Regions from separate parts of the Homo sapiens genome. Here region 2 is linked to region 1. The links are contacts of gene promoters, found by promoter capture Hi-C in human tissues and cell types (Jung and others, 2019). All regions are on one chromosome and are shown on one strand. Each heading gives the region's core, a stretch centred on a gene start or on the middle of the fragment in contact. The rest is flanking DNA. Distances are from core to core; before and after follow the strand shown.

Region 1 (3,938 bases), core at 1,439-3,938:
CCTCTCCATCTGGCGTGCCCTTTCCTCTTCCCAGAAGCCACTTGACTGGGCAGGAAGGAATGACCAAGTCCTACTGCAGACTGGGAAACTAAGATGCAGGGAGGGCAGGGAGCTTGCCCCAGGTCACACAGGTGGAGGGAGAATGGGAGCGGGAGCTCTTTCCCCTGTCCCAGGGTATATATGGCTGACCTAGCCACCGCTGAGTTCAAACGCTCTATGGCTCCCAATTTCCTTGCCTTGGCCACACTGAATTGTCAACTGATTCCAAAACATGGCCCCACACTCCCACCCCATCTGGAGTTACGGGGAATGCCTGCTCTGGGATCAGAGACCAGGGTTCAAACCTCAGTTCTGCCACTTACTAGCTATGTGACCTTGGACAAGTGACTTTATCTCTGAGCCTCCAGTTCCTCATGTGTAAAGCAATGCCTGCCCCTAGGGTTGTGCCAGTGTTCCATGAGACAGTGCACTCATATGTTAGTAACAAGCTGGCGGTTATCAGCCAATAAACGCTGCCTCTTGATTAATAAACGTGTATCCCTCAAAAGCCAGCTCAATTGCTACCTCCTTCAGGAAACCCTCTGAGGCCGCCCCATTGACAGCCTGCTCTTGCGCACTGATTGGACAGAGAAGTTCAGGTGCTGTCAGAAGCCTGGCCTTGGCTTATGGGAACTGGTGCACAGGGAAGTGGGGTAAAGGTGATGGGGAAGGTATAGGGCCTCTTGAGTGCAGTGCCAGAGGGGCCTTGGAACAGAGCAGTCTCCATGCCCTTGGTGCCAGACACTCAGACTGGCAAGGAAACCCCAGCCCCGACCTTGCTTCCCCATTGGATGGAAGTCTCCTGCTCAGGCCCCTCCTTCCCGGGACCCCCCACTCACCACCCGCTTGTCCATGTCTGCCCCGCTCTGGCCCTGCAGACAGGCCTGCAGCCGCTTGTGGATGTTGTGGGCTGCCCGCTTGGCCGGCTCCAGCCGCTGTTCTACCTGGGAAGGAGGTATGGAGGTTAAGGATCAAGAGAGGCTGTCTCCCCCTGAGCAGGAAACTTTCTCCTGTCCCCTGGGGACCCCATGGCCAACAGCTTGAGGAATGACTCAACCCAGGCCCCTACCTGGCGTCCCCGCCCCGGCCCTCTGCTCCGAGACAGCCTGCACAGGCCTGCCTTCCCACCTGCCCGGCCCAGGCACGTACCTGCAGCAGGTCCTCACCCAGGAACTCAGCGGTCTCCGGGGTGCTGCGGGGAGTGGTGGGGGGGGGGGGGAGAGTGCTTCTGCTGAGCCTGCCTGGGTTAGAACGCCCCCTACTTCCCTTCCCCGCAGCAGGGCACCTGGACCCCAGTGCTTCCACTGTCCCTCCCAGCTGAGGCCTGCCCTGGGTGGCCCAGTTGCTTCATCCCAGTCGGAGCACATTCCATGGGGGTGGGAATAGGATACATGGGTTTTTCCTCCTCCACCCAGGGCTGTGTCCTGAGAGAGGGCGGACAGATGAAACTAAAGGGGAGGCTGAGAGACCCACCCGGGGCCCAGCTTTGGGACACAGAAGCCTCTTTTCTGCCCACTCCCAAATCCTCAGCCCACCCCGGGATGAGGAGTATTAGCTGGCCCCAAGAACGGGAAGTGCAGGAGCTCAGACTCCTAGGCACAGTCACACAGCACTCTGGACTACAGCTGTGGGCAGGGGTGCACAGGCCCTTGGCCCCCACCTGGGGACACATGGGGGATGCCAAGGCCCACTGCAAGGTGGTCTGACTGTCCAGGCTATGTAGGCATCTGTGCCAGTGTGAGACTAGAACCAGGTCTCTGGACACCCAGTCCCCTCCCTGGACCCAGAGAATGGGGAACTCCTGAGGCTGGGGGAAGAGGAGCAGAGAAGACAGGCTCTGAGAGGCTCCCCAAACTTCCGGCCTCCGTGCCACCGGCTCAGAGGCTGGGGGTGGGAGCTGGGAGACCTGGGGATATTTCCACCTGAGTCCAGGAAAAGCAGAAACGAGACAGAAGCAGGAGGCCCCTGGGCTGGGGGGAGGGGGAGGGGGAGGGACGCTGCAGGCCAGGGGCAGGCCCCTCCTCCCACCAGGCCAGGACCCATCTCCTCCCCTCGCCCCAGGTCTGTGGCCCTAATCGACCCTCCTCCCTCCCCGGCCCAGCAAGCAGAGGTGGTGAACTGTCCCATTGTCCAGAGGGGACAAGTGAGGTCAGGAGGACCATCCACTTAGAGACTCGTGGAGGCAGAGAAGTCCCAGCGTCCTAGGGCAGAGAGCATTCTCCCGCCTGAAGCCCCCTCCAATCCGGTAAGGGGGGGCATCCCTTCCCCCAAAGGCCACCCTTGCTCCTCCAGCTCTGCCCGAGAGACGGGGGCGGCGTTCAGAGAGGAGGAAGAGAGAGCAGGAGTCTGGCCGCTCAGAGGGTGGCTGCCCAGCTGTCCCCAGCCTCCCCCACCCCCGTCTCCCCCGACCCTTTTACGACCCCTCAAGTCCTGCCGGGGTAAGAGTGGGGCTGGAAGCGGGTGACACTCACCGTCCCAAGCTGCCCGTCTGGGCCAGCTGCCGCATGCGGTGCAGCTGCCTCTTCATCATCTTGGGGGCGAGCTGGGGGCTGCGGGGTCACGGCGGGGGTCGCGGGCCCGGGGAGCCCCCGGTCCAGCCTGCCTCTCCTGCGGCGCGGCTCTTGCCCCGGATGGGTGGGCGGCGCTCTCGCTTCCTGGGCCGCCGCGCGGCTCTTGCTGGCGGCCGGCTCTCTCCTCCCCCGCTCACGACTCCGCCCCCGGCCCCCAGGTCACTCCTCTCTCCAAGTTGGTTTCCTCGCTCTTCCCCGGCTTCCGGGCCCCCGGGCGACCCCCGGCCGGGCCCCCGCTGCTGTGTGTCCGCCGGCCGCGGCCGTCCACAGGTTGTGCCCGGCTCCTCCTCCCCGCAGCGCCCCGCCCAGCCCCGGTGGCGGGAAGCAGGTAAGCCCATTCCTGCCCCTGCGCCCGCAACCCGCCCCAGGCGGGGTGCCTGCCCCACCCGCAGCCTGCAGACCCGAAGTATAAATAACCTTTGCATCCCTCGCAAAGAGGAAAGGGTACCAAGCGAAAGAGGGGTAGGCCTTTCTGACCTGTCCTGGCCTCTCTGGGCCTGCCGCGGATACTGCCTTGCACTCTCTTCCGCAGAGGACCTCTGGCCCCCTGGAACTAAACCCCCCACCACTGGATGACTGGCTGGGAGCTTTGGCTTCCTGGGGCCACGGGCTGCTGTGTGGCCGTGGACAAGCCCCTGGAACTCCGGACTCGCTGTTTCTAATGGTCTGATGGGCCAGCTGTCCTGGGCCTGCCCATTCTGCAGAGTGGACAAGACACCCCTGCCAGCTCCCTTTAAGGGAGGTGCGTGCCACCCCTCAGCCACCAGGAACCCTCCCAGAGCGGTTCGCGACACCCTGTTCTCCACATCTCCTGGCAGTTTGCTCCATCTGTGAAGCCCGTCTCCTCTCATTCCTCCTGGCAAACAGCCTCAGTCCCCCTTCCTTCTTGTAGGGCAATGATGTAGGTGCTGCTCTGACTGCCCCCAAACTCAGTAGTTCTCCTCTTTGGCCCTCCACTCAACACAGAGTTAGGCATACAGTAAGTGCTCCATAACTGCTGGTTTTACAAGATGTGAGCGCCTTTAGGAAACAGTAGGCTCTCCTTACCCTGCACCCCTGTGGCATCAGGAGCCGCAGGCGTGGGGAAGAGGGGAGGGTGTGCCCCAGAGTCCTGCCACACCCTCTGCACTTTGCTTTGTTAGTTTCAGTTTAGTTTGAGACTATTTGAGCCACTACTGTGTGCCGGTGCAGACTGTGTGCCGGTGCAGACTGGGCGCCTCTCAGAGGCAGGACCTTGGCCCCACACATCTCCATACTCCCAGCACCTAGCCCAGGGCCTGGCACACTCACTGGCTGCTTCTCTCCTCCCTAATGAGGCAGGACTCATTG
Region 2 (3,874 bases), core at 271-2,770, 180 kb before region 1:
GCGCGTCCTCCCAGGCGGGCACGCAGAGCTCCAGCGCGCCGTAGCGCACGGTGCCGTAGTAGCTGAGGTAGGGCGCCGAGAAGAGCGCCGCCAGCAGCCACACCAGCCCCACTGCGGCGCGGGCGTTACGCGGCGTGCGCAGGGCGCGCGAGCGCAGCGGGTGCCGCACGGCCAGGTACCTGCGGAGGGCGCCTGGTCAGCGGGGCGGGCAGGTGCCCTCCCGCAGGGGCCCGCGCCACGTCCCGCGCCCGGGCCCTGCGGCCCAGTGCGCCTCCTGTGAACCGTGGGGGACGTGGCGGGGATTAAGGGTGTGAACGCGCAAGGTGCTTAGGCCCTTGCACCTAGCAAGGGCCCGATCCCGGTGACTTGTTATTTCTAGGATTATTTTATGGATGCGTCAGATGAGGTCCAGAGAGAAGTGACTTGCCCAGGGTCATCAGCTGGAGTGAGCCTGGATTTGACCCCAAGTTTCAAGCTGTGGAAGCAGATGTGTGCACAGCTTGGCCAGGTGTGGGCAGTTAGAAAATAGCTGGGCTGGGCGCGGTGGCTCACGCCTGTAATCCCAGCACTTGGGAGGCCGAGGCGGGCGGATCACTTGAGGTCAGGGGTTCGAGACCAGCCTGTCCAACATGGCAAAACCCCGTTTCTACTAAAAATACAAAAAATTAGCCAGGTGTGGTGGCCTGTAATCCCAGCTACTCAGGAGGCTGTGGCAGGAGAATCGCTGGAACCCAGGAGGCAGAGGTTGCAGTGAGCCAAGATCCAAAAAAAAAAAACAACAAAACAAAACAAAACAAAAAAACTGATGAACGCATTCGTGAGCTTCTTTTGCGATTCATTTCGCGCTTACAGAGCACTTACTATGTGCCAGACCCTGTGCTGCCACTTGAGACTCAGAGGCGTCCTCTGGAAGTTCACAGTGGAGGAGGGGAAGGGCAGGACAGTCCCCTCAAGCACGCCCTGCAGGTGCCCAGAGGCTGCTTGCGAGGGGTCAGGGAGCTTTTGTTTCCTCCCACCCACCTCCCTTTCTGGTCCCCCACTCTCTCCTTCCTAAGGCCAGTGAGGATCTGTTCAGGACTCCTCCCCCAACCCCCGCCCCCACAGCCCTGCCCAGCCAGGCCCCAGGCACAGCGCACCTGTCCACGGAGACAGCAGCCAGCGTAAAGCTGCTGGCGTACATGGTGAGGTAGATGAGCAGGTGCACGGCCTTGCAGACGAGGGCCCCAAAGAGCCAGGCATCCAGCGTGTAGATGGTGGCCTGGAAGGGCACGCAGCACAGGATGAAGCAGAGGTCAGCCACCGCCAGGTTGAGGATGAACAGGTCCGTGGTGCTGCCAGGCTCCTGCCAGGCACTCGGGCCAGGCTGCAGGAGCACTGCCAGCACCAGCCCATTGCCCACTGTGCCCAGCAGGAAGATTAGGGCAAAGACCACAGGCACTGCCACGGCCCCCACACTCCCTGGGCTGTCCAGTGAAATGTTCTGGGCATCAGCCATCTCCCCATCAGACGGGCACCTGGGAAGAGAAGCTGGAATCCTCAGGCAAGAGCCCCCAGTTCTGGTTGCTTGACCCCGGGATCTAACTCCCCCGACCTGGGTCTGGCCAGGTGTTCTGGGCTGGAAGCTCGTGGGAGATGGAGGAGGGGAGAGCAGAGCCAAAGTCATCGCTGAGTGTCACTGTGTGAGCAAGCTCGTGGTGTTCAAGGGGTGAGAGTTCCTCAGTTTCCTAAGGAACACCCCTGGAGTCCTGCCTGGAGGACTACCTAGGTATTTGAGGGACACTTTCAACCCACGAGGCTGGGGAAGGCACAAGCGAAGTAGGATGAAGATATGGCGATGGGGGGAGGGGCCAAACCCAGAAACTGGTATGTTTTCCTTCTCAATGGGGATCTGAAGCTCAGGGGAGACCCTGGGACATGGGTTTAGGGCTTTCTCTGGCTACAAGCTGTAGCCTTAGCAAAACACGGGTAACATCCCTGAGTCATTGGAGGGTCCAGTATAGTGAGATCATCACAATGGCAAAACTGGGAAGACCGTGTAGGTCACTGCTTCCTCTCTGCACATAGGGAAATTGAGGCCCAGAGAGGGGACATGGGAGGATAATATCACACTCGAAATGGCAGCTCTGGGGCTGTTGCCACCCTGGTATCCTGCCTCTTAAGCTAGAGTGCTCATCTGAGAGCTTGTAACAGGTGGTGCCTCTGACAACTTGTGTGTGTGCACACCGCACCCATGCTCACCCCCATCCCACTCTACAGCCCATGTCTCCTACTGCCTGTGGATCTCCTTGCAGGCTTGAGACCACTGGGGTGGTGGGACAAAGTAGGGGAAAGGGGGGTCAGGCAGGGAGTAGGGAAGAAAGGCAATGTCTGCCCCCATCCCAGCACCCAGCATGCAGTAGGTCCCCAAAGCCCAGGATGGGCAACACCCACCTCCGCCTTGGGCAGTGGGCTTGATCCTGGGTGGAATGGCCGGGCTGGGTGGGCCTCCTGATTCAGCGGCTGCCCCTTGGTGCCTCCCTGCAGGTACTGGTCTGCCTTCTACTTCTCCCCCTTTGCCTTTAAGGCCCCTCCTCTCCTCTGCCCCCTCTGCTGAGCCGGAGTTGGGCACTCCCTCTGGAGTAGCCACTGGCCACTTCCTCCTCAGTCCCTGATTTCCCCCAGGTGGCAGGCTCTTCTGCCTGGCTCTTCTCTGCCTCTCTGCGTTGCTGCTGCCTTTTCCTCTCTCTGCAGCCAGTAACCCATTGATCTCGCTCTCTGTGATTTGCTTTGTAGTTAACCCCTCTGTGCCCAGGGCCCAGCCAGTCTCTGGCACTCCCACCTCCTGTGGCCCAGCCTGATGTGACTCCATCCCCTATCCCTGCACCTTCTTGCTCCAATCCATGTTTAGAAAAGGTTCCTAGGCCGGGCATGGTGGCTCACGTCTGTAATCCCAGCACTTTGGGAGGCTGAGGCAGGCAGATCACTTGAGGCCAGGAATTCGAGACCAGCCTGGCCAATGTGGCGAAACCTTGTCTCTACTAAAAATACAAAAATTAACTGAGCGTCGTGGCGGGCGCCTGTAATCCCAGCTACTCTGGAGGCTGAGGCAGGAGAATCGCTTGAACCTGGGAGGTGGAGGTTGCAATGAGCCGAGATGACGCCACTGCACTCCAGCCCAGGTGATGGAGTGAGACATTGTCTCAAAAAAAAAAAAAAAAAAAAAAAGAAGAGGCTGGGCGCGGTGGCTCATGCCTGTAATCCCAGCACTTTGGGAGGCCAAGACAGGTGGATCATGAGGTCAGGAGTTCAAGACCAGCCTGGCCAAGATGATGAAACCCCATGTCTACTAAAAATACAAAAATTAGCTGGGTGTGGTGGCGGGCACCTGTAATCCCAGCTGCTCGGGAGGCTGAGGCAGAGAATTGCTTGAAGCCAGGGGTTGGAGGTTGCAGTGAGCCAAGATCGTGCCACTGCACTCCAGCCTGGGCGACAGAGCGAGATTCCGTCTCAAAAAAAAAAAAAAAAAAAAAAAAAAAAAGGATTCCTAGTCTTGACTGGGGTTTCCTGGAGTGGGAAACCAGGACTTGAGTCTCCTTTCGGCAGACTCCAGAGACTCCTCCCTCAGGCTCTGCAAATCCTGAGATCCTTCTCCGGAAGCTCTTTCCAGAGCCTTAGTCCAGCTGGAGCCCAGATGGTTTAGGTACCTGTCCAAAAAGTCTGGCTTTACCTGATAGCAACGGGGAACTACTAAGATTCTACAGCAGAGACATGACCCGCACATTTTCTTTCTTTCTTTCTTTTTTTCCCCCCACATTATCTTTTGTAAAAAGTTTGTTATGGGCCAGGCGCAGCGGCTCACACCTGTAATCCTAGCACTTTGGGAGGCTGAGGTGGG

What was found. The method cuts DNA at HindIII sites, captures the fragments that hold promoters and counts their contacts. A contact is called where the count stands out against the background at its distance.
Region 2: the fragment with the promoter of GALR3 here is called in contact with the fragment with the promoter of SH3BP1 in region 1 in 4 of the 25 tissues and cell types used here (aorta, heart left ventricle, lymphoblastoid cells and 1 more).

Annotation. Positions count from the first base shown.
Region 1 is chr22:37,638,419-37,642,356 of GRCh38, reverse strand. It overlaps SH3BP1 (SH3 domain binding protein 1), which reads right to left and starts at 2,688. Exons shown (of 18, transcript NM_018957.6): 1 at 2,511-2,688; 2 at 1,189-1,231; 3 at 879-983. The coding sequence starts at 2,569. PDXP-DT (PDXP divergent transcript) reads left to right here. Exons shown (of 6, transcript NR_109952.1): 6 at 1-525. RefSeq lists silencers at 2,471-2,910, 2,941-3,090, 3,721-3,938. The HindIII fragment of the contact is 22,988 bases long and covers 1-3,938 here.
Region 2 is chr22:37,821,028-37,824,901 of GRCh38, reverse strand. GALR3 (galanin receptor 3) reads right to left here and starts at 1,520. Exons shown (of 2, transcript NM_003614.2): 1 at 1,137-1,520; 2 at 1-179. The coding sequence starts at 1,495. The HindIII fragment of the contact is 28,947 bases long and covers 1-3,874 here.